Linked DNA regions of Homo sapiens: all the other regions are linked to region 1. Evidence: promoter capture Hi-C in 16 types of primary human blood cells and fetal thymus (Javierre and others, 2016). All regions are on one chromosome and are shown on one strand. The core of a region is centred on a gene start or on the middle of the fragment in contact, and the rest is flanking DNA. Distances in the headings are between cores, read along the strand shown.

Region 1 (7,842 bases), core at 4,831-7,330:
TGGGATCAAAATGATTATCTTGCCTTGTTCTCATGGTAACAGACTGTCATGTGTTGGCCAATAATCCTGCTAGTTTCTTCCTGATCAATTCAAACAGATAGAAACTTAATGTACCAAGATGCTGAAGTACTCAGCAGACTGGAAATTTGCTTCATGAAGGTGAAGTGGGAGCCGCTGTTCTGCAAAGTTTTGCAATCTGGAGATAGAAGGATTAGAGTGGCTTTGAGAGTATATAAAATTAATTACCCTTGACATAGCAATTAGAATTGCTAGCTCATGGGCAACAGAGATTTTGGAAAATACCTTATTAAAAAGATTTTTAAGATAAAATGGAAAAACATTTTTCTCTTCCAATGCCGGCTTAAAAAAATAAGTTAAAAGTACTTAGCTGTATTATAAGATTTTCACTACTGAAGCAAGGTGGAATCTTGAGTGTAATATATTATCAAGATAATACATTTATAGTCAGGAAAACTACACTCTTGATATGACCTTACTTTTATCTCATAGGGTCTTCTATGTAATACTTTTGAATTTGGGCTTTATACTGTTTCTCTTCTTGTTCAGCACTTCCCTTTTGAAACACAAGATGCAAAGTTCTAGTCTCATGATAATTAAGTTGCTAAAAAGACACATGGATTTATGTACTATATAACTGAAATATTAAAATTATTAAAAGACAACCATTTACCCATTACTGAATGGGAACGAGATAAATGAAAAAACAAAAAACAAACAAACAAAAAAAACCATGTTTCTGTAATGCGAACAAGCTCTGTGGGCACCAGTCAGAATTCAGAAGGTTGACATGAAGACTACCAGAATCAGACAACTTGGAAATGGTTTACTGCAACCATTTGCTGACTCTCTAGACACATAGGTAGTGTAAATCAACATATCTGTGAACAAAGATGACTCAAGGAATTGTTTTCTCTTGGACTTCTGGGATGGTATATTCAGTGTATTTTCCCCTCCAATATGGGTCATCTCAGTACTATACCAGGCCATTCATTAGTATGAAGCTGTTAGGTTGCCTTCATGGCCTCCCCAATCAGGGAGCATGGACAGAAGTGTTCTTCTCTCCCTTTTAATTTTAATCCTTACTCTTGGTCATACACAAATAGCTATTAACACCACACACTTTAGCTCCTTCTATGCTACAGGAGAAATAACTTACAGATGTAAACATTAATGCTTATTATATAGCCATTTTTGCACTAGCAACTTTACATGAGGCAACTATCATTTTCTTCATTTTAAAGTTTAAAGAAGAATTCAGATGTGGAAATACCAGTTGCCTGCCAGTGAATGCTGCTTAGACATCCATACTAAAAGAACTGAGTTATGTGTATACACACATCTTGTGTACCAAAACTCAAGGATAATTGTTTGAGTATTAAACATACCTTACCATAAATTCATCCCTTCACTGATTGTTAAAGGACTCTTCCAGGTTAAAAAAAAAATACCCTAAATTCTGGAAAAATTTATTTTATCTATAATATAAACTTAATGGTGAAAAGTTCCAAGGAAACTAATAAAAGATCCAGAAGTATGGGAGGAACTTCTGAATCATTCACAGAAAAGATGTTTATACCATTCAAAATGAAGAGGGTCACAAACATCTCTCGACAATACTATTTTTCTTTAAAAAATAACAGCTGCTCAATGTGCAGAGCTTTAAAATTAGATAAATTAGGAGATTCATTATTTATGTTATAGTAAGATTCGCCAGACTTTCTTTCAAAAGCCAGCTTTCCTTGGGTGATTAAAACAGTATTTGATTCACAATATTTAATGTATGTGCAACTTCTCAGTCACACGCACGTTGAACTGACATATGAATTGTTCAAATCGTAAAACTTTCATTGTCCGGTTGAGTTAATAGCCTGCATTCACCCACCATGAAAAATCAGGACAGCACAGTCAAAAGAATAATAGTGGAAAAAAAGAAAACCTGTTACTACTGAAAGAAACCACCCTACTAAGCTTTTAGCTTCTTTACCTTCTCTATAGCATTTAACAACAGTTCTACAAGTTGTTATAAATACATACCCATACTTCATTCTCATTCTATCATTTTCTGGGTTACAGTAAAATCTTTCCAAGTGCTCCTGAGAATCATTGAATACACTCTGCCACTTTTGAGTAGTTGTCCTTTTGATCTGCCAATGATATGGCAAGACAGTGTGGTGCTTCAAACAATCCCTGCCATAAATACAAGTGCCTTGCAGAAAGTCCATGCAAATTTCAATTCCGTTCTCTTGGTGAGTGTGGTACTGCAACTGGTTCACCAGCTCAAACACGAGGTCAAGGGAAGCCTCTTCACTTTTGTCCTGAAAGAGCTCAGTACTCAGCTTATCACTGGTGTCCAGAATGTATTGGATTGTAAAACTGTTTTCTTGGAAAATGCCTGGAACATAATCTATGACTTTGTCTAAGCAGTCAGGACTAGTAGGAACATCACTTGAAACTGGGTGCAAAAGATCAGTCTGGAAGTGAGCTGGTGTGGAATCTGCCACCGTCCCACTGAGGGTTTCTGATGGAAAGCTGTGATCTTGGATTGGAACCACTCGTTCTGGAGCTTCAGTGGAAGGATGGGCTTCCGGTATCTGGTCCCCAACATTTGTCCTATCAGGAATCAGAACAGACATATTATTTTCTGCTGGTGGGCATGATGAATTGATTTCCATGGCTTTCTTCATCATAGGTTCATGTAAGCTGTTCTCATCTGTACTCTGGTTCCTAGATCTAAAAACCCCATCAAGTGAGCCAGATTCTAGAAGAGTGTTTAATATTGGCCTCAAAGACCTCAGGGTTCCAGTTCCCAATCTTTTCTGATCCTTTTTCTTAAAACAAGTCTTCAATGGAGTGATCTTCTCAGAGAGTCTCATTTGGCATGAAAAGTCATCAGGAGGAGAGGGAGGCTGCACTACACAGTCTGGCTCAGGTTCGGTGGTTTCCATTTCCATAATGTGGATTAGCTCCAACTGCTCCTCAGAGTCTAAAAATCCTACGAGGAAAGGAAGGAAGATGATCATTTACAAACTGACAGCAACTGGATTTCATTCATTCATTAAAATGTTTTGTTTTTGTCCTGACTGATTCCCTGAAACCATTCCTCTTATACTATATTTAGTTTTTACAAGTCAATTTTAAATTTTATCGAGAAATTAAGGCTCCAAAGCACCCAAGGCTATTCAAAAGCACACAGCAGGTAAAAGTAGAAGAGTCTTTCAACAGGCCATTGGCATGCATTTGTGGACTGAATACATAAGAGTTTGCAATTCTGCTAGGTTAAGAATTTCTACTATAAGGTTAGAGTGGGGTGGGAAATGGGAGGTAGAAATAACTGTATCTAGATGATGACAGCAGGGAAACCACATTTCCACTCAGCTTTGCGGTTCTCTTTATAGTTGTTTATGTATCACCTATCTCATGAGTTGACAAAAAGTTTCTTTAAAAGTTCATCAAATGAAAGATAAACTTCAAACTTAAAACAGTGAGTCAATTTAAGGGTATAAGAACATACACAAGTAACAGGGGCTCTCAATTGAAATGTTCTATGGGAGAAAGCCAGGAGTCTGTTAAGCATTTCTATATTCAGAAAGCTCTAATATACTATCCAAGAATGTTAAGAGTCTACTTTTACAACCCCCAAAAACATTACCGCTTCTGATGGAATACAAGGGTGTGTTTAGTAACAGAAGCCCCATTAGCAACAACCACTGCACGATGTGTCAGAAGACAAGCACAACTTGGTAACACAGAAAAAGCCTCCTAGTTCTTGCCTTCAGAAAAGTTACATACATACATTTTTAAAGAGCAAATGAAGGCATACTATAGAAAAATAAAAAAAAAATATAAAACACACACCAAATTTCAGATTCCTAATCAACTACTGAAAGAGACGAAAAAGTCCTTTCTTCCAAGAATCAGACCCCTTGAAAAAAACTGAAATTTGAAAACATTTACTGAGATTGTGCCAGGTGAGAAAGGAATGGTGATGAGCAATTAATCCTCTTCTCTCTTGTCCAATAAACTGAAAGAGATCTGTGACGCAAGGTCCCATGACTTAATCAAATATGCATCCTAGGTGCCCAATAAAGTGCCTAGCTACCACAATGCACACAGCTGGTGTTCCATATATATTTTGTTGGCTGAATTAGTTAAGAAAAGCACATATTAAATGCTTAGTTCTTTGTTGTTTGTGGGTCAACAACAAAAGGTAAAACTGAGTGTCCCCAAAAGTGAATATTAAAAATTTAATTGGAGAGTCATAAATCTATGTGTAAGAAGTCCATCAAATTCAGAAAAGTAAAATACAAAGCAGTTTATAACGAAGTATTAAATTTACATGATAAGTACAAAAGGAAAAGGCAGAAAAAGGAGAGTTCACTGTAAGCTGGCATTGTTAGGGAAAGCTTCACGAAGAAGGAGGGATCTGACATGAGACATAAATCAACTGGAAAGGAGCCAAGCCAGGCGTTATTATTCATCATTTGGTGTTATTGCCTCAAGGCACAATTGGCACAGATTGTGGTATTCCCTCTCCACCATACCAAACCGGCCTGTGCTTTCCCCACGCGCACACTCTCTAACCACTCCTATCAAACCCAATCAAGGTAAAATAGACACTAAATCGATTTTATTTATATGTGTGTCTGCGCGTACACACGCAAGCGCGCGCGCGCAACTTTTCCTATTATTGCCCTTTCATCAAACTCGGAAACAAAACTGGGAGGAAGAAGCAGAGAACTGGAGAAGTGGCTGGAGGGGGAAAGCCACTAGAACCTAGCTCCTCAATTAGTTTTCATAACAGAAAAATAAAGATGAGAAGAACACATCCTCCGGTCTCCAGCGGCAGGCGACACACCGCGACACCCCTCACCTCGTGACGCTGGGGTTCTGCGGCACTCCCGGCCAAAAGCACTTTCCGAAAAAACTGCCGCTCCAAAGCCTGCCCGCCCGCCGCCGCGCGACACCCCGGCGCCGAGCCCGGGTCCGAGTGACGCCTCCTGTTGGCCGCGGCGGTTTGCTCAGCTCCTGGTCCCGGGCCGCGCCAACTCCGCGCAGTGCAGCTGAGGCGCCGCCCGGCTCTGCAATTCCGGGTGTTCCCGGGCGTCCCCGCCCCCGCCTTCCCCTCAGCAGGCGCCTGGGCGCCCCCCAACTCCTGTCCAGCCTCCTTCGGACCAACGACCCGCCCCGGCCTCCCTGCATCCCAGAGACTACTCGCGGCGCCTTCTCTCTCTAATTCTTCTTTACCCCCTCAGCTCACCTCCCGAGGAGCGTCCAACGGGTCTTGGGGGCTCGCAGAACTGAGCCGCGAAGCGCGGGGGAAAGGCGGCGAGCGCTTCCCGCGGCGGCGGGGAGGAAGACGAAGACTTGTGCGCTCTCAAAGTTAATGTGAAAACATCTTCCAAACTTCTGGGCTGCAGCCCGAAACGCGGGGTAGCCGGAAGGCTCCCGTAGCTGCCGTGCCCTCCCCCCCGGGGTCTGGGAAGGGCTCCTAGGCGCCTCAGAGCACCCGGGGTCGGCCCGCGGGGGAGGCCGCATAGACGCGCCCCCACCCTGACGAACGGGGAAGGGGCAGGCGCCTGCGACCCCAACTAAATCCTTCGGCGCCTCGGTCTGATGTATACACCTGCCACAGGCTCTAAGTGCCTAAGAAGTGTAAACCAATTCCATCTTCATGCTGACGGGACCCGAGTGAATTCGGTACAAAGGGCAGTCTCAAAATCAATCACCCCGATCCGCGAGAGCCCCGCACACTGCCGGCGCGGGGCCGGGGCCGGGGCCGGAGCCGCGAGGCCGGCGCTCGCACTCCCCGCTAGGGTTCTTCAGCCCCTCAGTGCCCTCCCGGAGCCCTTTACCTGAACGGGAGCCTGAGAGAACGGACGACAGGAGCCGAGTGGAAAGCAGTGCCCGCGCCGGAGATCAGCGCCGAGGGCGGGAGCCGACGTCTAGGGACCACAGAGCCGCGACGCGGCGAGCCGCGCACGGGCCATTCCGCCGCCGCGAACGCAGAAAGCCTCGACCGCGCTCCGAGTCCAGCCAGCTCGCCTGTCACCTCGATCTCTGCTTTAAGTGGCTTCCGGTCGCCTCCTCCCGACGGCCCGTCGCGGAGGCGGAGCCTGGGCGGCCGGAGTTCGGTGGGGTGGGGTGAGGAGGCCGGGCGCTCAGTGGGTGTCGGGAAGAAGACCCGCCCCCTGCGCGCGCGTGCGCGTTCGTTCGAGGGGAGGCGCGCGAGTTCTGTGCGGTGGACTTATGCTCCCGCGAGGGGGCGTGTCCTTTCTCGCGTCCGCAGTGTCCCTGAGGGTCCGCGTCTACACGCGGCTGTGAGGAAGGAAGGCGCGTGCCGCGTGGGACGGGCTCCACCTGCCTGCGGACAGATGGAGGGTCACTTTGTTCCGAGAAGACCCAGACACCCGAGGGAGGATGTGAAACGGAACGACCCGTTTCGGTGCGGTTGGCTTTGTTTATTTGCCTACTCCCCAGACGCCTCCAGCCTCTGATTCCGGCACACCCTGTGAGGAAGCAAACGGCTGCCTCCCCCACTGCCACCAGACGAGGTCGCCTGCCCCGAGCCGGACAGGCTGGACAGGCTGCGCACCTGCGGCGGCCGACTATTTCGTGGGCCTTGTACGCCACCTTGCAGAAGGGAAGCTGTGAGGTTTTGGCGATAGAAGCGCATTTACTTGTGTTTTAAAGCCCACAAACGCCGTAGTGACTAACTTATTCATTCAGCAAATGTCTGTCAGAGCGTCTATTACGTACCAGGCATGTAGCCTGAACTTCACGCCTGTCCTCATGGAGCTTGCAGAGCACCTCTGAAATACACACCACATACGGAATGGCCATATTTTCTGGGTTGTAAAATACTTTGAATTGTAACTCCATATATTGAATAGATTTTCAGTAGTGAGGGAAGAAACAATACATTTAGTTCATATAATCCATATGTACGAAAAAGAAGTGCTGGTAATTCCAGACATGGAAGTCAGTAAAACTAGGAGCTAAGAGGTAATAATCATAGACATTATGATTCTAAGCCTTTGTTAAACGGTTCTAAACCAGACTGGGTAAGCGCACCAGCAATGAATAGATTAAGGGTGTTATCTCCTTAGCAGCTTATTTCAAATTGCATCAAGGCAGGGCCATTAAACTAAGGTGAGAATGATATGGGCGGAATTCAGAGGACAATAGGTAAAAGATGAAAATCTTTACATTTAAAATCTTATTGAGACAAGATCTTGGTCAGTGTCTACTCATACATAGAATTGCCTAGAAGCTAATATTTGAGTTTACCATATTACTGTTGGCTTTCTATTTTTCTCATTTGTTCTGTTTCTTTTCTGTCCTTTTGTGCCTTCTTGTAGATTATTAATTCCACTCCCTTGTAACAATTAGGTTGTTATACATTCTTTATGCTTTTAGTAGTATTTCAGTTATTTATTGCTGTGTTCAAACCACCCCCAAAATATAATGACTTAAAACAATGGCTCTTTTATTTACTCATGATTCTGAATTCTCTGGCACAGGAATTCAGTCAGGGCATAGTACAGGTGGCTCATTTCTGCTCCATGATGTCTGGGGCTTCAATTAGCGTGGGCATACTGGGGCCTGGCTGGAATGGCTTAACTAGGGTCATAAGTCTTGGGACTTAAGGATGGAGATGGAGTTTCATGACAAAAATGAAGTGAACATGATGTGGAAAATATGGACATGGAAGCCACGAGCTAAGGATGCTGGAACAGAAAGAAGGCTGTTAGCTACATACCTTGGTTTTTCTCTACATGGCTTCTCCATATGGCTAATTTAGGCTTCCTCACAGCATCATAA
Region 2 (7,842 bases), core at 3,651-6,150, 820 kb after region 1:
CATACTTTTATAACCGCCCAATGGGTTCACCTTGCCCGCTGCCTAGACAGAGCCAATCTATCAAGATGGGAATTGCCATAGAGAGAGAGTAATTCACACAGAGCCGGCTGTGTGGGAGACCAGAGTTTTATTACTGCTCAAATCAGTCTCCCTAAGCATTCAGGGATCAGAGTTTTTAAGAACAAATTGGCTGGGCGCAGTGGCCCATGCCTGTAATCCCAGCACTTTGGGAGGCCGAGGCGGGTGGGTCACGAGGTCAGAAGTTTGAGACCAGCCTGACCAACATGGTGAAACCCTGTCTCTACTAAAAATGCAAAAGTTAGCCGGGCATGGAGTCGCACACCTGTAATCCCAGCTACTCGGGAGGCTGGGGCAGGAGAATTGCTTGAACCTAGGAGGCGGAGGTTGCTGTGAGCAGAGATCACGCCACTGCACTCCAGCCTGGGCGACAGGTGAGACTTGGTCTCAAAAAAAAAAAGAACAAATTGGTGGGTTGGAGGAAGCCAGTGAGCCGAGAGTGCTGATTGGTCAGAGATGAAATCATAGGGAGTTGAAGCTGTCTTCTTACACTGAGTCACTTCCTGGATGGGGGCCACAAGATCAGATGAGCCAGTTTATCCATCTGGGTGGTGCCAGCTGATCCATCGAGGACAGGGTCTACAAAATATCCCAAGCACTGGTCTTAGGTTTTATAATAGTGATTTCTTTCTTTTCTTTCTTTCTTTCTTTTTTTTTTTTTTTTTTGAGACAGACTTTCGCTCTTGTTGCCCAGGCTGGAGTGCAGTGGTGCCATCTCGGCTCACCACAACCTCAGCTTCCTGGGTTCAAGTGATTCTCCTGCCTCAGCCTCTCAAGTAGCTGGGGTTACAGGCATGTGCCACCACACTTGGCTAATTTTGTATTTTTAGTAGAGACAGGGTTTCTCCATGTTGGTCAGGCTGGTCTCAAACTCCCAACCTCAGGTGATTTGCCCACCTCGGCCTCCGAAAGTGCTGAGATTACAGGCATAAGCCATCACACCAGCCTATAATAGTGATTTTTATCCCCAGGAGCGATTTAGGGAGTGTCAGAATCTTGTAGCCTCCAGCTGCATGACTCCTAAACCATAATTTATAATCTTTTGACTAATATGTTAGTCCTACAAAGGCAGTCTAGTCCCCAGGCAAGAAGGGGATTTGTTTTGGGAAAAGGCTGTTATCATCTGTGCCTCAAACTATAAACTATAAACTAAGTTCTTCCTAAAGCTAGTTTGTCCCATGCCCAGGAATGAACTAGGACAGCTTGATGGTCAGAGGCAAGATGGAGTTGGTCAGGTTAGATCTCTTTCTCTGTCTCAGTTATAATCTTGCACTGACGGTTTCACTTTCATTATCTTCCAACTAATCCTTGAATTGCTTCTTGGGAAGGTGTCAAGAGCCTGGACACTGGTTGGGGTTGAGGCCCCACCAGCATTTGGGGACCTCCCTAACCCACTGGTATCAATAAGACCTAACAATCCTATTCCTAGGTATTTGCCCAAGAGAGATGAAAAGATATGTTTACACAAAAACCTGTATGCAAATGTTTATAGTGACATTACTCATACAAAAAATGGGAAACAATCCAAATGTTCTTCAACTGGTCAGTAGATAAATACACTCTGGCATATCCATACAATGGAATATTACTGGGGAGAAAAAAAGAAGGAGGTGGGGATGCGGGACAATGATATCAATGAATCTCAATGCATTATGCTGACTGAAAGAAGACACACTCAAAAGCTACATTTTGTATGATTCCATTTACATGATATTTTGGAAAAAGCAAAGCTATAGGGAGAGAAAATAGATCGGTGGTTACCAGAGGTTGGGGAATGGGTGGAGAGGTTGACTTCAGATGGGCACAAGGGTATGTACTTTTTGGAGTTGACGGACCTATTCCATATCTTGATTGTGGTGGTGGTTCTATAACTATCTATTTGTTAAAACTCATAGAACCGGGTGATGGGTACGCCAAAATCTCAGAAATTATCACTAAACATCTTATTCATGTAACCAAACACCACTCATTCCCCCAAAAACCTATAAAAAAATATATATTTTTTGAGACTGAGTCCTGCTCTGTAGCCCAGGCTGTGAGTGTAGTGGTGCGATCTTGGCTCACTATAACCTCCATCTCCCGGGTTCAAGCAATCCTCCCGCCTAAGCCTCTCAAGTAGCTGGGATTACAGGTGTGCGCCACCATGCTTGGCTAATGTTTATATTTTTAGTAGAGATGGGGTTTCATCATGTTGGCCAGGCTGGTCTAGAACTCCTGATCTCAAGTGATCTACACGCCTCGGCCTCCCAAAGTGCTGGGATTACAGGCGTGAACCACCGTGCCTAGCCTAAACCTATGGAAATTAAAAAAACAAAACAAAACACCCAAAAACCTCATAGGGCCGGGCATGGTCGCTCACGTCTGTAATCCCAGCACTTTGGGGGCCAAGGCAGGCAGATCACTTGAGGTCAGGAGTTCAAGACTAGCCTGGCCAACATGGCGAAACCCCATATCCACTAAAAATACAAAAATTAGCCAGGTGTGGTGTCATGCACCTGTAGTCTCAGCTACTCAGAAGATTGGGGCAGGAGACTCGCTTGAACCTGGGAGACAGAAGTTGCAGTGAGCCAAGATTGCATCACTGTACTCCAGCCTGGGCAACACAGCGAGACTCTGTCTCAAAAGAAAACAAAAGGCCAGGTGCCGTGGGTCACACCTGTAATGCCAGCACTTTGGGAGGCCAAGGTGGGTGGATCACCTGAGGTCAGGAGTTCAAGACCAGTCTGGCTAACATGGTGAAATCCAGTCTCTACCAAAAATACAAAATTTGTCAGATGTGGTGGCAGGCGCCTGTAATCCCAGCTACTCAAGAGGCTGAGGCAGGAGAATTGCCTGAACCCAGGAGGTGAAGATTGCAGTGAGCCAAGATCACGCCACTGTACTCCAACCTGGGTGACAGAGCAAGACTCTGTCTCAAAAACAAAACAAAACAAAAAACACACAAAAAACAAACTCATAGAACTGTACACTAAAAAGGGCCAATTTTACTGGATATAAATTATACCTCAATAAACCTGATTCCCACCTCAAAAATAAACAATTTTAAAATTCTCAGGAATATATAGAAGATACAGTTCAGATCTCAGTGAAATGACTGGAAAACCAGAGAAGAAATCTACAATCAGACATAGGTATATGAAGGGTCCACTAGATGGTGGTATTAATTTTTGTAACAGAGCCTAGAAAAACGAAGCAAAGACATCACAGGCGTGGCAGTGGAGTAGTTTTTTGAAAAATGTTCTTGAAGATTATTGCTGTAATTCCTAATATATTGTCACCTTGATTTTTGTGTTTTTGCTAAGCCAGGTGTCCTGGCCTTCCACTGATTCTGGGAGGCCATCAATATCCTTCCAGTAAAATTCTCTCTTTCAGTTTTGTTTTGTTTCTGAAACAGACTGAATAGCAGCATTAATAGCGGTGGTTAACCAATTTGTTTGTTTGTTTTTTGAGATGGAATATTGCTCTTGTTGCCCAGGCTGGAGTGCAACGGCGTGATCTCGGCTCACTGCAACCTCCGTCTCCTGAGTTCAATAATTCTCCTGCCGGCCGGACATGGTGGCTCATGCCTGTAATCTCAGCACTTTGGGAGGCCAAGGTGGGTGGATCACCTGAGGTCAGGAGTTCGAGACCAGCCTGGCCAACATGATAAAACCTCATCTCTACTACAAATGCAAATATTAGCCGGGTGTGGTGGCACGCACCTGTAATCCCAGCTACTCAGGAGGCTGAGGCAGGAGAATCGCTTGAACCCAGAAGGTGGAGGAGGTGCAGTGAGCCAAGATCACGCCACTGTACTCCAGCCTGGGTGACAGAGCAAGACCCCATCTCAAAAAAATAAAAATAAAAATAATTCTCCTGCCTCAGCCTCCTAAGTATCTGAGTTTACAGGCATGCGCCACCATGCCCAGCTAATTTTGTATTTTTAGTAGAGATGGGGTTTCACCATGTTAGCCAGGCTGGTCTCAAACTCCTGACCTCAGGTGATCCACCCACCTCACCCTCCCAAAATGCTGGAATTACGGGCGTGAGCCACCATGCCCGGCCTGTTTTGAGGTTTTTGTTGTTGTTTTTGTTCTCATTTTCCTTTATGGAGAATTTTAAATATGTACAAAATAAACAGAATGGTCTCATATGAACCCTTAGTGTACCTATCACCAAGCTTCAATAGTCTTTGATAATCTGCCATTTTAAATTCAAGCCTCCATGACCACCAATCCCCATGCAAATAGTTTGTTTGTTTGTTTGTTTGAGACGGAGTCTCGCTCTGTCGCCCAGGCTGGAGTGCAGTGGCGGGATCTCAGCTCACTGCAAGCTCCGCCTCCCGGGTTCACGCCATTCTCCTGCCTCAGCCTCCCAAGTAGCTGGGACTACAGGCGCCCGCCACTACGCCCGGCTAATTTTTTGTATTTTTAGTAGAGACGGGGTTTCACCGTTTTAGCCGGGATGGTCTCGATCTCCTGACCTCGTGATCCGCCCGCCTCGGCCTCCCAAAGTGCTGGGATTACAGGCGTGAGCCACCGCCCGGCCATAGTTTTTTTATAGTTGTTTGTTTGTTTTTTGAGATAAAACTCTTATGTATTTTGAAATGCAGAAATTTTAACTGTGCAATTTCAATTTGTTTTTGAAGGACCTAGTTTGGAAGTTTCTAAGAACATAGAGTAAAAAGAAAAAGGAAAGTTATGAGAAAAAGCTTAAGGGGTAATTCCAGTAAACAAAATATAAGTTTACTAGGACTTTTAGGGGGAATTAATGAAGAGGAAAAAATGAAAAAGCAAAGATATTATTAAGGAAAATTTCTCTAAAATCAAGAAAGATTTGAAACTTTGTTAAAAAAGACCTAATAAATGTTGAACAAGATTAATAGAAAAACATATATGTATTATACAATACATACCTTCATACATCCTGGTGAAAATTCTGAACTTCAAGGATAAAGCGAATTTTCACAAGCTTTCAACTGGAAAACACAGGATACCTATAAAGGGACAAGGAAAAAAAAAAAAAGCAAGAAAGGATCATGGCGACCACCAGAAGGGTTTTATATTTGGCAGTTTCACCAGCTTCCCCAAAACACATCAATCAGGGAACACCAGTATTCCAAAAGAAAGGGGAAATGATATTAACTGAAGTGAGTTAGGGGAGTTGAAAATGCAAAAAAAACAAAAACAAAAAACAAAAACAGCTATTCATGACAGTATGGGCTGAAGGTCCCATGCGGTATCAGTTTTGTTTTCATAGTGATAGTGACATTTGTTCCACATTTGCTGAGGGACACTGAGGGCCTGGTGGGGGTGGTGTTCCCAGGTTTGTAGAGAAATGTCTTAGTTTGTGTTGGAAAGATACTACCACTAAGTCTTCTAAGAAGACAACAGCAATTTGGGCATGGCTTAGCAACGAATACTTGTCTCTACTCTTTATTTAGCATTAGCAGGGGTGGCTCACCTTGGGGCTGGAGGATTCTCTTCTCACTGTGTTGCCCAGACTGGAGTGCAGTGGCACAGTCTTGGCTCACTGCAACCACCACCTCCCAGGTTCAAGCGATTCTCCTACCTCAGCCTCCCAAGTAGGTGGGATTACAGGCATTCACCACCACACCCAGATAATTTTTGTATTTTTAGTAGAGACAGGGTTTTACCATCTTGGCCACACTGGTCTTGAACTCCTGACCTCAAGTGATCCACCTGCCTTGGCCTCCCAAAGTGTTGAGATTACAGGCATAAGCCATTGCCCCTGGCCCACCTTATCACTTTAATAATGCATACACATTGAATTGGGGTAACATGAAAAACACTTTTCCTGATATTTGCCTCCAGTCATTTTTCCTATTGTTTGTAACTCTTGCCTGCATAGATCTAAAGATTTAACATTTGATAGGAAGATAATTGAACCACTAAAGGGGAATCATTCTTATATGTAGGGAGAAATCAATTATTTCCAAGAAGATTCCTTATTTAAAAACTGATGTGGCGGGACACGGTAGCACACACCTGTAGTCCCAGCTACTCAGGAGGCTGAGGCAGGAGAATCACTTGAACCCGGGAGGTGGAGGTTGCAGTGAGCCGAGATCACACTGTTGCACTCCAGCCTGGGCGACAGAGCGAAACTCCATCTCAAAAAAGAAAAAAAAAAAATGAAAAAAACTCAAAACTGATTTGGTATCTATACAATGGACTAATACTCTGTGATTTAAAAGAAAGACGGACATACATTGATACTGATATATTACCATCTTAAATGGATCTCAAGGACATTTTGGTGGATGAAAAAAAAAGTTGATCCCCAAAGTTGCATACTATATGATTCCACTTTTATAATATTCTTGAAAGGACGTAAGTATAGCCGTGGAGAACAAATTAGTGATTGCCAAAGAACAGGGAGGAGGACAGTGGACTGGTGCAACTATTAATATGTAGTACTATAAGGGATAGCACTATGAAAGGGTAACACAGGACACACACACACACACACAAGCTAGTGCATGTAAAAACTGGTGAAATTGGAATAAAGCCTGTGGTCTGGTTAACAATATTTTACAGATGTCAGTTTCCTGGTTTTAATATTGTACTATAATCACGTAAGAGGCAATGATCAGAGGAAGGTGGGTGAAGGGTATATGGGACTCTGCTATATTTGCAATTTCCTGTGAATCTATAATTATTTCAAATTAAAGAAGGGGAAAAAATCAAACACAAGACATACAAACTCATCAAGTATTTCCTTTTTTTTTGGAAAAAAAAAAAACACCTACTGATTGTGAATGGCTTTATTGGCTGCTTCCTTTAACTCCCACAACTCTCTGAAATAGATGTTATGAACTCTATTTTAATTTTCATCAAAATGGAGGCTTAGGTTAAGTAATCTGTCCAAGGCACAACTACTGTTAGAGCCAGGGTTTGAATCCAGCACAATATAAATCCCACTCATGGTTGTTTTGGTTTAATCTTGATTGGACTTAAATGACACCGTTCTTTTCTTTAACACCCAGACTGGAGTGCAATGGCATGATCTCGGCTCACTGCAACCTCCGCCTCCCGGGTTCAAACGATTCTCCAGCCCCAGCCTCCCGAGTATCTGGGACTACAGGCATGAGCCACCACACCCAGCTGATTTTTGTATTTTTAGTAGAGACAGGGTTTCACCATATTGGCCAGGCTTGTCTTGAACCCCTGACCTCAAGTGATCTGCCCGCCTCAGCCTCTCAAAGTGTTGGGATTACAGGTGTGAGCCACCGCGCCCGGCCAACACTGTTCTTTTCTGCAATCTATTCTTCTACTTAACAAAGATTAGAGGACTTTACAGTTGCCTTTTTTTTTTTTTTCCAGACGGAGTCTCACTCTGTCGCCAGGTTGGATTGCAGTGGCACGATCCCGGTTCACTGCAACCTCCGCCTCCCAGGTTCAAGCGAGTCTCCTGTCTCAGCCTCCCAAGTAGCTGGGGCTACAGGCGCGCGCCACCAGGCCGAGCTAATTTTTTGTATTTTTAGTAGAGACGGGGTTTCACCGTGTTGGCCAGGATGGTCTCAATCTCTTGACCTCGTGATCCACCCGCCTCGGCCTCCCAAAGTTCTGGGATTATAGGCGTGAGCCACTGTGCCTAGCCTGCCATTACGTTTGTAATCCCAGCACTTTGGGAGGCCGAGGCAGGCGGATCACGAGGTCAGGAGTTCGAGACCAGCCTGGCCAACATAGTGAAACCCCGTCTCTACTAAAAATACAAAAATTAGCCGGGCGTGGTGGCGCGTGCCTGTAGTCCCAGCTACTCGGG
Region 3 (7,842 bases), core at 1,788-4,287, 560 kb before region 1:
GCAAGAAGAAAGAATCAAATTATTGGCCATGACTACCAAAATAGGCTCTCAAAATTCATACCAGAAATTATCATATTAAAAGCTAAAATGTTTAGAGACAAACGATTGTTTTGGTTCCAAAAGCTCTGCTCAATTTCTAAAGGTCTGAACAAGAAGTTTATACTATAAACACTGGAGTTGGAAAGATCACAGGGTAATGTAAAAGCCATTTCTTTCCTCTCAGCACAGCCGCTGCTGCCTCCCTAGAACAGAGGCAAATCTCACAGTTGTGAGGAAAGAAGATAATTGGGAAAAGAGAGCAAGAAAACAAGTAATTGATATGAATTCCTGAGAAAGGGGCCTCCATGGAGCTGGGGTGAAGCCTCTAGAAGAAATTTAAAGTAGTTTTGGGAAGGAACTGAGAGCATAGTAAACTTCTGCTTCCCTTCCCAGAAATACCTAAAGCCTCTTGGAGAAGCCTATATTCAACATTAGGCTACAGCTGAAAACCGGCAAAGTCTGAGAGATGTTCTGTTAGATTGGCCTGAGCACAGCTTCAGTGAGACTCAGCACCTCCAGTGGTATAGGAAAGCAGACAAGAGTTCCCAGGGCCCCCCTTGAAAAGGGTTCAGGAAAGCAAAGAGAGGTCCTGAGATGGGGATGTTGGGCACAGGTGCCTGGAACTAGCAAATGAAGGCCCGTGGCCAGGACATAACCATATGCCAGTGCACAATTAGAAGGACCAGACAGATTGAGTTATATCTTATAGATGCCAGAAGACAGAGATGGCTATCAACCAGAATCATCCTCTTTATGAAATCCTGGATGAGAAAAAAGTTATCTCATCCCCAACCCCCAGGTCTTATATCACCCATGGGACACAGAGATACCTTGAATTGGCTGTATTAAGAGTTCTACCACAAAATGGACATAGGGGCTCAAGAGCTAAACTAAGTTGGGTTGTAGGGAAATAAAGTTACATCTTTGCTCACCTGAATTTTGTGACCGTGAAGTTTATATCTGCTAACAGATCTGGATCCAGAGTAACTCTGATTTAATGCTGAAATCTCCTAAACTACTGGTTTGGGACATCAAAAGTTTTCACTAATTGAATTGTACAGAGTTCAGAAATACATATAACTATGCAATAGAATTTTATATAAAAGCTAAGTTTCAGACTAGTGAAGAAAAGCATATTCAATAAGTTGATTTGGTATAACTAGTAACAACTTGGGGAAAAAAGACAAATCTCATCTCACTCCTTATATCAAAGTAAATTTCATAAAGATCAAAGGTTTAAACCCTGAAAAAGAAACTATAATAATGCCTAAAGAAAACTGGGTGTATTTATTCATAATCTTAGAATGAAGAAGACTTTTTAAAGAATGACACAAAACATAGAAGCATGAAGAATATTAATAAATTTAGCTGTAAAGATTTTTAAATTTCTATGCAACAAAAAATAATAATGAACAAAATCAAAGACAATTGGTAAACTGGCAATATTGTTTACAACGCATATTGTAGACAAAGGGCTAGCTTCCTAAATTTAAAAGGAATGTGTATATACCAGGTGCAGTGGCTCACGCCTGTAATCCCAACACTCTGGGAGGCCAAGGCAGGCAGATATCTTGAGGCCGGGAGATTGAGACCAGTCTGGTCAACATGGCAAAACCCTGTATCTACTAAAAATACAAAAAATTAGCTGGGTGTGGTGATGCATGCCTATAATCCCAGCCACTCTGGAGGCTGAGGCAGGAGAATCGCTTGAAGCCAGGAGGCAGAGATTGCAGTGAGCCAAGATCACTCCACTGCATTCCAGCCTGGATGACAGAATGAGACTCTGTCTCAAAAACAAACAAAAAAGAATGCACACTACAGATATACTTGCAAAAGTATTCCATAAAATATGTTCATTACAGTATCATTTTTCATTAAAAATATATATATATATATTTTTAAACTAAAATTATCTTTAATAAGGGAACTAAGGAAGCATTGCCTGAGGCAGACCATGCAAATGGCAGGTAGGGATCTTGGACAGTATAGACTTGACACAGTTATATTTCTCAGCTAACAAAATAATCCCTCATCCTTTACTGGTACCATAAGGCTTTTGTATTTTCTTTATAACTAACTTACCAAAAAATATTTATTAGAGTCCTACTATATTCTAAAGATAGTCTATTATATCTTTTCAATAGAGCTGGACCTTGAGAGATTGGTGTAATTTCACCAAGTAGAAAAGACAGGTAGGGCATTACAGAAGGCCAAACAAACATGGGGCCATGAAAGTTTATGGTGTGCTGGATGTACAGGATAGAGCACACATGTATTACACGGGGGGCGGAAAGGGGTGCAGAAACAGTGTAGCCAGAAAATGAGGCTGCAGCCAGACTCTGCTGCAGAAGCCAATGGTTTTTCAGCAAAAGATTATTATTATTAAATTTGTATTTTAGAAAACAACTCTGGCAGCTGTGTGCAGGATGGAATGAACAGAGAAGGAGGCAAGAAGGCCAGGTAGCTGGCTGATGCAATAGGTGATGAGGTCAGAACAAGGGCAGAAGATAGAATGGACAAGAGAGAGACACTGCGAACATTTTAGAGATAATATAAACAGAATGTGGCTACTTATAAGATGTGGGAAATGAAGGAGATTAAATCATTTGAGATAGTATTAACAACACATAGTTGATCAGATGTGAGAGGCAAGGAAAATGAACATATTTCTAGTTTTGTTGACTATGAGAAGGTGAAGCTTTTAATCAACACAAAGAGTCCAGAAAGGGAAGCATTTTGATAGAGGACTGGAAGACATGTTAAACTTTGGGGGCACTGGGTTTAAAGTACCTGTGGGGCACATAGGCACAGATGTCTGACTGGTATGTGGAAACGTGGCAGGAACATTGGGCGTGAAAAAGACTGCACTAGCATATAGATAATGCTAGAAGAGAAGGGTGTGGAGATAGACCTTCAGAGAATCTTTGCATTTCAGGGCTGGGTCAAGGAAGAGGAGTCAGCAAAGAAGCTGGAGAACGAAGAGAGAGTGTGGAGAAAAAGCAGTGTCCAAAGCCACAAGCGGAGTGAGCTGGGGAAGCCAGCCCTGAATGGCAGAACTACAAAGTGAGCCCAACAGAGTCCCATGGAAGGTAGGCAGCATAATCTGTCTCCTCAGCCCCACTCGATTTTCCCCTGCTGCTCTATAATTTGAAGTATTGTTCAGTTTTTCATATAAAAACTCACAAATACTTTCAAAAAAGTAAGTGGTATATTCTTTTTTTATCCTAGGGATTCATAAATATAAAAGATGAAGCAACTTTCCCTATACCACTTGGCACGTGAAGAAAAATGAAGCTTAGAGTTTCCCAGGTCTTAGTCCAAGGGCCCAGCAGCAAACCTTTCAAGCACACAAATAAACAAAACCAACAAAATAAACCAGAGTTGACCAAAAAAAAACATGCAAATTAAATTATATATTTTTTCCATTTTCATGAGAAAACTTGCTTCTGACAAAAATACTAGATTCCTTTCTTATGTTTTATATTGTTGTGTTCTTGTTCCTTTTTAAGTCTCATAAAAAAATTTCCCCATAATATTCATGTTCCTCGAATCCTGCCAAAGCCATGGACATTCCTAAAGATTAGATTTATTTAGAATACTGAGTCAACAATTTCTATGCATTTTATTTCACTAAGTTTTTGGGAGTCACTAAATGTTTAATCATGTAATTAATCCTAAAGCCCTTCTAATTGTGTTTGCTCAGGAAAAAAAAAGCTGATTCAGATTGCAATGACAGACTATTAGACATGCCTTGGAATTTATATAAGAAACCAATAAGTTAGTATAAAAATAATTGAGATGTATATATTATGACTGAAAGCTGCCAGGCCAGGTATGGTGACTCACGCCTGTAATCCCAGCACTCTGGAAGGCCGAGGCAGGCGGATCACCTGAGATCGGGAGCTCAAGGCCAACCTAGCCCACATGGTGAAACTCCATCTCTACTAAAAAAACCACAAAAATTAGCTGGGCATGGTGGCATGCATCTGTAGTGCCAGCTACTCAGGAGGCTGAGGCAGGAGAATTGCATGAACCCGGGAGGTGGATGGTGCCATGAGCCAGGATCACACTACTGCACTCCAGTCTGGGCAACAGAGCGAGACTCCATCTCAAAAAAAAAAAAAAAAAAAAAAAAAAAAAAAAAAAAAAAAAAAGACTTAAAGCTTTCAAAGCAAATAAACTTAAGATGCAAAGATGTTTTTCATAAAGAGTGTTTTTTAAAATATGCATAAGATGTATCCAAAATAAGAGCATTTTATTAAATAGCATTTTTAGGGTCAGAACTCAAACCAGACACTGGAAATGAGCTCAGCAGGTGAACAGGTAGTTGTTTTCTAAAACAAAGTACTAAGGACTCAGTGATGTAACTTGAAAGAATTATAATAATTTTTTCTTATAAAACCAATTTTTATCTATAAGTTTAAAAAACAATCTCACATTTTCACATACATATTTTAGTAACTGGAAATTTTAATTCTGAGCTAATCTAAGTTAAAATTGGCTTTCACTGGTATCAATGTGGTGAAAGGAACTTCCACAAATCCAGTAAATTCAAGAGATGCCAGAGTATCTCTAGTTTAAAATATAGCTGGTCTTCCCCTCTGGTCTTGAAGCAAGCAGTTGCTCTTCTCCCTCCAGAGCTGATCCCTTCCCCTGGACTTTAGATCCCCGTCTTTCTATCCTCCTCAAAAAATTACCAACTCCACTGGTGCCATCTTTGTGGTATTTCCATTCTCTGGCTCCATTGGATCCATTTATCTTATATGTAAATTGTGCCTCTGTCTTGGAAATAAATACATCTGTGAAAGTAACCCTGAGATCCCCCCTAGGATGTATCCCTTCCTCTTGTTCCTTTCCCCTGTCATTTCTTGATTGGTTGTCTCCACCGATTCCTTCCTTCAGCATCACCCACTCATGCCTTTACCTTGTCCCCTGTAGTGATGCTCCTGCTCACTACCCCCACTTCTACTCAAAACCATCACTTCCTGTTCATCAAATCAATGGCCTGTTCTCAAACATCATTTCTTTTGAATTTATAGCGTATGACCCTGTTGGCCAGCCCCTCCTCAATAACAAGCTGGTTCATCTAAAACTTGGATCATTTGAGTTTAACCGCAACGGTTAAGAACAAAATGACAACATTTTGTTGTCAAGCAGACCTGGCATCATTGTTTAGTAGCTATTTGACCTCAGTGAAAATTCTTAAACTCCTATCAGTCTCAGTTTGTTCATCCATAAAATGGAATAACTCTTCCTCCTAGGGGAGGCTGTGAGAATTAGATAATAAAATGCATGTAAAATTCTTAGTATAGTAAATGTTCAGTAAAAATTACCTCTCCTACTGATTACTTCCCTGTGTCCTTTGCTAACTCCTCTCCATTCTCATGTCCCTAAATGAGGATCTCTCTTAAAGCCCACGCTTTTCTCTCTACAAGCTCCCGTTTAGAAACTTCATCTACTCTTACTGTTTCCAGTATGATCACTACACTATAATCTAGTTTTGGCATCAACTTCTCTGCCAAGCTCCATCCAATCCTACTTCACAAACTAACCTTAAGGATATTTCTGTATGAATGAGCTGTCATTCCTCAAATTCAACACACAACAAAAAGAACTCATCATCTTCTATATCCTCCCAACCTCCACCAGTGGCATCACAGACATGGAATCTAAGAGTCATTCGTTAATCATTCTTCCTTCTCACCTCCCTACCCCTCACATATCCAATACCCTGTTTTTACTTTCTAATTTCTCTCATTTCCGATTATGCCTTTTCATTTCAATCACCAACACTCCAGCCTGGACCCTTATCTTTTCACACCTAGATTATTGAAATAGCCTCTCAACTTGTATGCTTATACCTCCTTCACCATCAGCAGATTAATTTTCCTAAAATGTCAATTTAATAGTACTTCTCCCTTGCTCAAAACCCATAGACACCTACTTTTCCCTCCCATTGTCTACAAGATGAATTAAAATGGCCCAGTCTTTAATTTAAGATCCTCCACATCCAGACAGTAATCAACCTTTCCAATTTTATCTTCCAACCAAAATCTTCCAGGTTAAAAACAAATTTATCTTTGTATTCTCAATATCTACCACAGTATCGGTCAATAAATAAAACTGAACTGAGCTATTCTAGCTAATATACTTCCATAATTTATAGTCATTTGTTCAGTGAATGTTAAATTTATTCTTAATTCAATCCATTTAACTAACGAATATGTATTGCCAATGTGCCTGAAACTGTATAAGCACTATAAGTATACAATATTTACAAATGAATAGTCAAGATAGGCCAATTTATGCTGTGGTAACAAACAATCCCAAAATCTTAGTGATGCTACACACAGTTTATTTGTCACTCATACAAAGCTGAGGCAGGTGAGGTTCAATGAAGCTGTCCTTCATGTGGAGTCTTGGTATCCCTGCATGATTCAATCGTGTGGACATCTGTATCAAAATATCATTCCACAATCACCATGCCCAGAGAAAAGAGCATGGAAAATCATATTCCATTCTTAAACCCTTTCACCTGAATATAAAACATCTTCACTTACACGCTATTTATCAAAGCAGGCTTGCTTTGTGGTCCCAGGATGACTGAGAGGAAAAGTGTTTGGTCACTCCTACCAGTGACCAAACAACCACTTAACAAGTATCCAAATCTCCAGATACTGCTTGCCACAGACTCCAGGATGACCGAAAGCATATTACGTAGAAAGGAATTTGGCAGAACCATGCAGAGTGTGGGAAGTAACAGCAGTTAAGGAGCTGCTTGGGGAGGATAATGCACATATCAGCATCTCAGAAGGCAACTCTTCTGAGAGAATCATTGTTCTGGCCAGATCTATTAATGCCATCTGTAAAGCATTTGCTGTGATCATTAAAAATCTGGGAGAGGACATCAGCCACTCTGCAACCAGTGGGACAATTGATCCCCAGGCAGCCTGTGGCCCAAATGGGTACTGGCACATTGGTGTTCCTATGAACTCGCTTTTTACAAAATATTTATCCTTTATAACCAGTGTGGCTGTTTCTTTGGGAAAGGCAGGTACAAGATCAAGGAAATAGGAGAGAGCACAAAGCTCAGGACCAGGTGGCAGGGCAGGCTGGAAGAAACTCAGGCAGGCCATCACTATTACATCACCTATCATTGATTATGTGGACCAGACTTCATGGCCGTGTTGGAAACTCTCTTTGGTCCCTGTGGCAGGCATGATTATCCAGGATCAACCCCAGTTTTCCGGCTCTCTGGTCAACTTTGCCGGTGTCAGGATGGACGCAGCTCAAGCAACAAGGCATGCTTTTCCCACATCATCCAGGAGACACCAACCATGTGTCTCAACTCTGACCTGGAGAGGCCGCCTCTGGGGTTTACTAAGCTGCACCAGATGGAAATGCAAAAGTCTTATTTCTCTATATTATGTAATGATACCAGATTCCATGACACTTAATTCAGCTCTCCAGACATGAAAATCTCTTGGGCCTAGTTGAGCACCTTTGCATTCAAGTTCCCTTGAACTCACTTTTTCTAAAATATCTAGTTGGGTGCGTGACCAGAAGTCATCAAAATTCAATGGGATCTGTCAAATATCTGAGACACAACTTAAAATCAGATCTGCTGGCAACGTTAGCTTTTCCTGTAGAGGGTACCCAGAACCCTTCTGCTACTTACCACTCACGATCCATCTGTGGAATTTCTGAACAACTGGCAATCCCATGTTTTTAGTAGTCTGTAATTTTGTTTCTACATTACTTTATCATTAACTTGCAATTTTTGTTCATTGTTGTAGTGGCTTT
Region 4 (7,842 bases), core at 2,269-4,768, 540 kb before region 1:
ACTCATGTGTCAACCAGACTGGTTCATTTTAAATCCTATAGGATATAGATTTGATATAAAATGGTAATTCAATATATTTGTCCTTGTTAATAAGAGTAAATCACATAAAAACTGCCAAATCCTTGTAACAAACTTAATGAGTTTACTTTTTTATTGTGAGATATGCAATCATAAAAACATGAACCTGCTATTGCCTTCAACCAAGCATTTCTTTTTTTATTTTATCAAACAAAATATAGGTGATGTTTCACAGACATAATAGTCATTCTTTAAAAACCAGAATGTTTAGTACATTCTATTTTTCAAATTTGCTACTTTTTTCTTTAATTAAAAGTCTCTCCCAATACTCTTAAGGTGGAGGTGGTAGAAAGGAACTGTGTTACTAACTCAGTTAACACACATGCTATTGAGCTAGGCACAGTGGCACAAGCGTGTAGTCCCAGCTACTTGGGAGGCTGAGATGGGAAGATCACTTTGAGCCCAGGAGTTCAAGTTCAGCCAGAGCAACATGGTGAGACCCTGTCTTAAAAAAAAAAAAAAAAAAAATGGCTGGGTGGCTTGGCTTATGTCTGTAATCCCAGCACCTTGGGAGGCCTAGGTGGGAGGAACACTTGAGGTCAGGAGTTCGAGACCAGCCTGGCCAACACAGTGAAACCCCATCTCTACTAAAAATAGAAAAATTAGCTGTGCATGGTGGTACACACCTGTAGTCCCAGTTACTCAGGAGGCTGAGACAGGAGAATCACCGGAACTAGGGAGGCGGAGGCTGCAATGAGCCAAGATCGCACCACTGCACTCCAGCCTGGGCAACAGAGTGAGACTCCATCTCAAAAATTAAAAAAAAAAAAAAAAAAAAAAAAAAAAGTGGTCCAGTGAAAACGTCTTGGCTTATGTCAGGATATACCCAGAAGACTGTTTTAATAGCATGACCACCTGAAAGTTAATTGATGAATTTCCACCAAATCAAGTGGGACTTTCTCTGAACTTTTGTACCTAACTTATTTAAAAATATAAATAAAGACAAAAGACTTTCAAACTTACAGATGAAGCAAAGAAGACTGTACTAGAAAGAACCCTCTGCTTCCAAATAAAAAGGCTCTTGCTCAGCCTCTTTTGACTTTGAAATTCCATTTACTGATAAAGCTTATCTTTCTTTTGTTTTTTTTTTTTTTTAAAAAAAGGCTTAAACTGTAAATATCTCTGGAAAAGGCAGTAGCCTGTCTGAAATTCACAAATTTGGTTCTACAACATTCATAAGATCAGGTTTAAAGAGATATAAGAATTTGGGGTTGTTAGGAAGGGAAATGTGACCCACAGACGAACCACAGATGAAATAAAGTGAAGACTGGCTAAAATCACATTTCCAGACTTATTTTGGCTAAAGTCATCTCTCCTTCTCTCCTTTTTTTTTTTTTTTTTTTTTTTTTTTTTTTGAGACGGAGTCTTGCTGTTGCCTAGGCTGGAGTGCAGTGGCGCCATCTGGGCTCACTGCAAGCTCCGCCTCCCGGGTTCACACCATCCTCCTGCCTCAGCCTCCCGAGTAGCTAGGACTACAGGCGCACGCCACCACGCCCGGCTGATTTTTTGTATTTTTTAGTAGAGACGGGGTTTCCCCGTGTTAGCCAGGATAGTCTCGATCTCCTGACCTCGTGATCTGCCCGCCTCGGCCTCCCAAAGTGCTGGGATTACAGGCGTGAGCCACTGCGCCCGGTCTCTCCTTGATTTTTATACTTCTTACCAACTACCAGCCTCATCTAGCACTAAACAATGCTAGAGGCATTGCCCCGTTGCTTTCATCCCATGGAAATCCACTATTTCCACTTACATGAAAACAAAGTTATAATAGCAGTGCTATTTCTTTAAAAATACCCAAGATGGTCGGACACGATTGCTCATGCCTGTAATCCCAGCACTTTGGGAGGCCAAGGTGGGTGGATCACGAGGTCAGGAGTTCGAAACCAGCCTGACCAACATGGTGAAACCCCGTCTCTACTAAAAATACAAAAATCAGCCGGGCATGGTGGTGGGCACCTGTAATCCCAGCTACTTGGGAGGCTGAGCAGAAGAATCACCAGAACCCGGGAGTTGGAAGTTGCAGTGAGGCAAGATCATGCCATTGCACTCCAGTCTGTGTGATGGAGAAGACTCTGTCTCAAAAAAAATTTAAAAAAATGCACAAGATACTTACACCAAAATTGTTTTGAAAATGTGAAATATTGTCATGGTAGGTGTGCTATGATGTGATTTATTGGAAGGTCGAGGTCCCCAAGATAGGTGCACTGTTTGATACTCCTTTCTTCTGCACTTGCAAGATTGCTCTCCTTTGACGTCAGACCCAGTTCTTGAGAACCAATATGTCTCACCTCCAAGGTGATTAATTATATTGATTGCACCTCAAATGTGATGTCACTTCGGTCTGCCTACAGTGATGGAAAGACACAACTAGATATCAGAAGAAGGAAGAGGACTAAACTGTACCTGTGTCATATTGTTCAGAATGATAATTTATCCTTTTTGATTTGATTTTTAATGATTTTGTGGTGTTGGGTGTTGACAAATGTATGCCACTAGATGTGCGTGATCTGAGCACAGGCATGTTTACTTTCTGAGTCTGATATAACCACAGTGGCAGTGGAGACTGAATCCACCCCATCTTCCTTCTGTGCCCTCCTCTTTTTGTTTTCTTTCACAATGCATATCTCTAGTCCTCGCTTACCAAGGATTATATTATGATTAATGAGATCACTGACAGTCAGAAAATAAGTGGACAAACTTGAGAACTAAGCTTATTCTAGAGCATTCTGTTTCCATTTTAAACAAGAAAACTGATGAAAACAAAAGAAGTAATGAAAGAAAATAAGGCAAAAGTCCAAAATATTAAACTAAACAAAGCGGGAATGAACACATTTTCTAATGGCTAGGTACCTAAGCATCAAATAAATAATTTGCTACTAAAATGACGCACACTGCTGAGCATGGTGGCTCACGCCTGTAATCCCAGCATGTTGGGAGGCCGAGGCAGGCAGATCACCTGAGGTCGGGAGTTCAAGACCAGCCTGACCAACATGGAGAAACCCCGTCTCTACTAAAAATACAAAATTAGCTGGGTGTGGTGGCATATGTCTGTATCCCAGCTACTCGGGAGGCTGAGGCAGGAGAATCGCTTGAACCTGGGAGGTGGAGGTTGCGGTGAGCAGAGATTGTGCCATTGCACTCTAGCTGGGCAACAAGAAAGAAACTCTGTCTCAAAAAAAAATAAGAATAAAAATAAAAATAAGAATAAAAACAAAAATAAATAAAATGATACACCCAACCCAAAAAAAAAAAAAAAAAAAAAAAAAACCAAGCACATTATTTCCAATCTTATCACTTCCTAGGTTTTTTTTTTTTTGAGACGGAGTCTTGCTCTGTCGCCCAGGCTGGAGTGCAGTGGCACGATCTCGGCTCACTGCAACCTCCACTCCCAGGTTCAAGCGATTCTTCTGCCTCAGCCTCCCGAGTAGCTGAGACTACAGGCACACACTACGGCACTCGGCTAATTTTTGTATTTTTAGTAGAGACGGGGTTTCACCATATTGGCTAGGCTGGTCTCGAACTCCTGACCTTGTGATCCACCCACCTTGGCCTCCCAAAGTGCTGGGATTACAGGCGTGAGCCACCGCCCCCGGCTACTTATCACTTCCTAGTTTTGAGGCTAATTCTCCATTAAGAGAACAAAGTCAATTCAATAAAGGATTCAACAGAAATTCACTTTACCTCTAATGAATAATTCAAACTTTAATATTTGAATTATCTAAATAATTAGCTCAAATTTTTATAATATTTTGTACTTCTAACACATTCTTAGGCATGGCTTTACTTTCTATCCTTTTGGTCAAAATAAATTAATGTACTTGATGTGTCAAAATAGCTTTTATTTGTCCAAAAAAAATCAATATAGCATCAAGAAATCCCTTTAAATACATCTACAGGTTGTGCCTGAGATCATGAGTATTGAAGTGTTTTATACTATTGTCAAATATCATAGAGTTTATCTCCAGGTAGCCTTTGATTATGAAAGATGCCCTTGGTATAAATAATCAAATCAGTTTTTGTAAATACTATTTTCAAGCCTTAAAGTGGACCATAAAATTCAAGGCATAAAAGCAATATATTTTAGAAATTCTGAAACTGTTTCCCCTACCTTTCTACCCAGAATTTAAAAAAAAAAAAAAGTCCTTTTTACTTTTTTTCCAGAAAATTATAAGCTTATATACTTCTTCTCATCTCCTCTTAGTTATATGGAATTTTCCCATTGTCTTCTACCAAAATTTAATCCTTCAGAATTCCCAGTTTTCCCACATGGTTAAATGGAATGTTCAACATTTTTGTGTGTTATGCCTCACTAGACCCATAATCAACCAAAATAGACATTTATGATAGACTTAAAGTTCTCTCGTTTTAAGTAAACACACACTAATTTTTTTAACAATCTAAACTTCTAAATATTCACTAAGTGTTTTACCTTGAAAATAGACTATCAAAAAAAAAAATCATAAGGGCCAGATGCCATGGCTCAAGTTTATCATCCCAGTACTTTGGGAGGATCTCTGGAACCCAGGAGTTCGAGACTGCAGCGAGCTATGATTGCACCACTGCACTCCATCCTGGGCAACAGAGTGAGATCCTGTCTCAAGAAAAAAAAAATATATATATATATACACACACATATATACACATATATACATATATACACATATATACATATATACACATATATACATATATACACATATATACATATATACACATATATATACATACATACACATATATATACACATATATATACATATATATATGATACCAATGTCCTCTATGTCATACGAAAGCCAATGTTGTTACAAAAGGCAGTGAGATCCAAGTCTGAAGAAGCCCAAATAACTTAGCAGACAGGTGAAATCATTGAGCCCATTATAACTAAAATTTGACATTTTATTTAATTAAACAAATAGTTTGAAGAAATAAATGTAAAGTAGTTAAAAGAGATACAGCATGACTCATAAACACATGAGCCAAGCACTGTTTGGGATGTTTGCTAATCCTACTCTAGGCTAATTAGCTGAAAACATACCTGGCAAATCCCAGGAAGCTTAAAGATGATTAAAGAACTCAAAGAAGGAAAGCCTACAGCAACTTGTGCAAAAGAATAAAGAAACTGCAGCTATTCCACCTAAGAAAGCCTGGAAGCCGATTTCATAGTAAACTTCCATTTAATATGGCTGTTATGCAGATCAGGGACAGACAGCTCTCCAATGGGACAAAACAGGATAGGACGCCATATATTTCAACATAAAGGCATAGACAAAAGACAGTCTCCACAATAAGGGGAATCTGTTCAGCTCTCGCCTGGGTGACCGCTGTATGAAAAGTGCGTGACCCCAAGGTGCCCGGGCCCCAAAGCCAATCCTAGCACACTGAAGCCTCAGAATGGAAACAGGAGAGCAGACTCCAGGGAGTGGAATTGAACACATTTCTTCACAGAAGGTGTCTCGATGAGATCAGCAGGGGATCACAGGACACATCACAGAGCAAGGCTTCCTTAGAATCCTCTCCAATTCCTCTCCTTTCCCCAAAAGCTCAGTCCTCCCGGCAAACTCCTTTACTCTAGTAGGCTCTGAGTCCCTCCTTGTGTTTCCTCCTCTCATTCCCCTCTCCAAGTCAATCCCTCTCTCCCTCTTCATCTCCCTCAAATTCTCTTTCTCTCTCTTGTAGCCTCCTCCCCACAACCCAAGTCTCACCCTCTACCCACACAGGCACTGTGGGGAGAAGGACGCCTGAAAATACTCATAGCAGGATTTGTTTAATGACATGCTGCAGTTTATATGCACCAAAAAGATGGCAGCATTGTGCCTTTTTTTTTTTTTTTTTTTTTTTTTTTTTTTTTTTGATACAGAGTCTTGCTCTGTTGCCCAAGCTGGAGTGCAATGGAGTGATCTCGGCTCACTGCAACCTCTGCCTCCCAAGTTCAAGCGATTCTCCTACCTCAGCCTCCCAAGTAGCTGGGATTACAGGTGCATGCCACCACACCCAGCTAATTTTTGCATTTTTGGTAGAGACAGAGTTTCACCATGTTGGTGAGGCTGGTCTCAAACTCGTGACCTCATGATCTGCCTGCCTTGGCCTCCCAAAGTGCTGGGATTACAGGTATGAGCCACCACGCCCAGCCAGCATTGTGCCTTTCTATAAATGATATAAACTTCCTCAAAAGCTCCATTCCCACTTTTAGAGGTGGCAGGATGGAGTGGGATAGGAAAGGTATGAATTTGCTGGTTAAGTGTCAGTGGCCAGCCAGGGGCAATGGCTCATGCCTGTAATCCCAGCACTTTGGGAGGTCAAGGAGGGTGGATCACCTGAGGTCAAGAGTTCAAGACCACTCCTGTAATCCCAGCTACTTGGAAGCCTGAGGCGGGAGAATCGCTTCAACCCAGGAGGCAGAAGTTGCAGTTAGCCAAAATCATGCCACCACACTCCAGCCTGGGTGACAAAGTGAGACTCCGTCTCAAAAAAAAGAGTCAACGGCCAGGTGTGGTGGTTCAAGCCTGTAATCCTAGCACTTTGGGAGACTGAGGTCGGAGGATCACTTGAAGCCAGGAGTTCGAGACCATCCGGGACAAGGCAAAACACGTCTCTACAAAAAATTAGCCAGGCGTGGTAGTGCACGCCTGTAATCCCAGCTACTCGGCCTGTAATCCCAGCTACTTGGGAGGCTGAGGCAGGAGAATCACTCAAACTTGGGAGGTGGAGGCTGCAGTGAACCGAGATCATGCCACTGTACTCCAGCCTGGGTGAACAGAGAAAGATTCCGTCTAAAAAAAAAAAAAAAAAAGAGTCAATCAGTTACCTCGCTTTAAACAGTCTTTTTCAGATCAATATGCAGTCAGTTCAAAGTTCAAATGCCCTCGGAGATTTGTTTCTCCCATTCCTCCCTGCTCCTTCACAAAATAGGGACCTGAGTGTAGAACAGAGATTACATGTCTCCGGGGGCAGCTGAGGGAGACAGTTGACCCCAGGGCTGGCCTCTTCAGACATATTCCCTGGTAACACCCTGCCAGTGACATCTGTGGTCAGCTTTTTGGGTAAAGCAAGGGTCTCACAGGTCCTTGCCCCTGTTAACTGGCCCCGCCTTCATTCAGGCTGGCTCTGCAAATCCTCTGGCTCTACTTCCACCTCTTCCTCCAACAGCCCCTGGCAGGCTTGCACCAGGGAGCTTGCGGGAGCTTGCGGGGCAGAGGGTGTCTTACCCACATGTTGCTCCCAGATCCCTGGTTGGAGGCCTCTGGTTTCAATCCCACAGCAGAATGTAAGAATTTCTGGATCCTTCCGCATCACAAAAGCAAAAGCCAAGGCATTCTTGGGGCTCTCTATTTGGGCTGTTTGTTTTTTACTTTTGTCAGGGTTATTGAGATATAATATACATTCAGTAAAATCCCTTTTCACGCATGTTTTAATGAGTCTTGACAAATGTATGTAGTTGTGTAACCATTACCACAATGAAAATATAGAACATTTCTGCATCTCCCACCCCTCAAATTCCCTGTGCCCTTTTGCAGTCAGCACCTGCCACCACTCCCCAGGCAACCACTGATCTGATTTCTGTAGTGTTGTGTAACATTGGCTTTTCCAGAATAATATATAAGTAGAACCATATCATTTGTAGCCTTTTGTGTCTTGCTCTTTTTTCATTTAGCATTTTGAGATGCAGTCATCTTATTGTATGTATCAGAAGTTTATTCCTTTCAGGGGATAAAACCCCTAGATTTATGAATTATAACTGACATACCATAAACTGCATATATTTCA

The links. The method cuts DNA at HindIII sites, captures the fragments that hold promoters and counts their contacts. A CHiCAGO score of 5 or more calls a contact.
Region 2: a fragment that was not itself captured here is called in contact with the fragment with the promoter of TIPARP in region 1 in 2 of 17 cell types (total CD8 T cells and fetal thymus); the score reaches 6.7 in total CD8 T cells.
Region 3: a contact is called between a fragment that was not itself captured here and the fragment with the promoter of TIPARP in region 1, in 2 of 17 cell types (naive CD8 T cells and activated CD4 T cells). The highest score is 7.0, in naive CD8 T cells.
Region 4: a contact is called between a fragment that was not itself captured here and the fragment with the promoter of TIPARP in region 1, in 1 of 17 cell types (neutrophils). The highest score is 5.2, in neutrophils.

The regions. Positions count from the first base shown.
Region 1 is chr3:156,672,828-156,680,669 of GRCh38, reverse strand. TIPARP (TCDD inducible poly(ADP-ribose) polymerase) reads right to left here and starts at 6,080. Exons shown (of 6, transcript NM_015508.5): 1 at 5,874-6,080; 2 at 2,056-3,013. The coding sequence starts at 2,972. TIPARP-AS1 (TIPARP antisense RNA 1) reads left to right here and starts at 4,957. Exons shown (of 1, transcript NR_027954.1): 1 at 4,957-7,499. RefSeq lists silencers at 4,995-5,354, 5,725-5,794, 5,825-5,874 and an enhancer at 6,285-6,584. The HindIII fragment of the contact is 8,735 bases long and covers 4,427-7,842 here.
Region 2 is chr3:155,855,463-155,863,304 of GRCh38, reverse strand. LOC105374174 (a long non-coding RNA gene) reads right to left here. Exons shown (of 3, transcript XR_924607.4): 2 at 4,973-5,053; 3 at 1-657. Among named protein-coding and RNA genes, the nearest start is that of SLC33A1, 5.0 kb to the right of the region's middle. RefSeq lists enhancers at 574-633, 5,228-5,327. The HindIII fragment of the contact is 260 bases long and covers 4,771-5,030 here.
Region 3 is chr3:157,230,173-157,238,014 of GRCh38, reverse strand. The region is part of intron 2 of LOC101928236 (a long non-coding RNA gene); the gene reads right to left. It also overlaps the pseudogene PCBP2P4. Among named protein-coding and RNA genes, the nearest start is that of CCNL1, 74 kb to the right of the region's middle. The HindIII fragment of the contact is 596 bases long and covers 2,740-3,335 here.
Region 4 is chr3:157,208,122-157,215,963 of GRCh38, reverse strand. All of the region lies in intron 2 of LOC101928236 (a long non-coding RNA gene), which reads right to left. Among named protein-coding and RNA genes, the nearest start is that of CCNL1, 52 kb to the right of the region's middle. The HindIII fragment of the contact is 1,462 bases long and covers 2,788-4,249 here.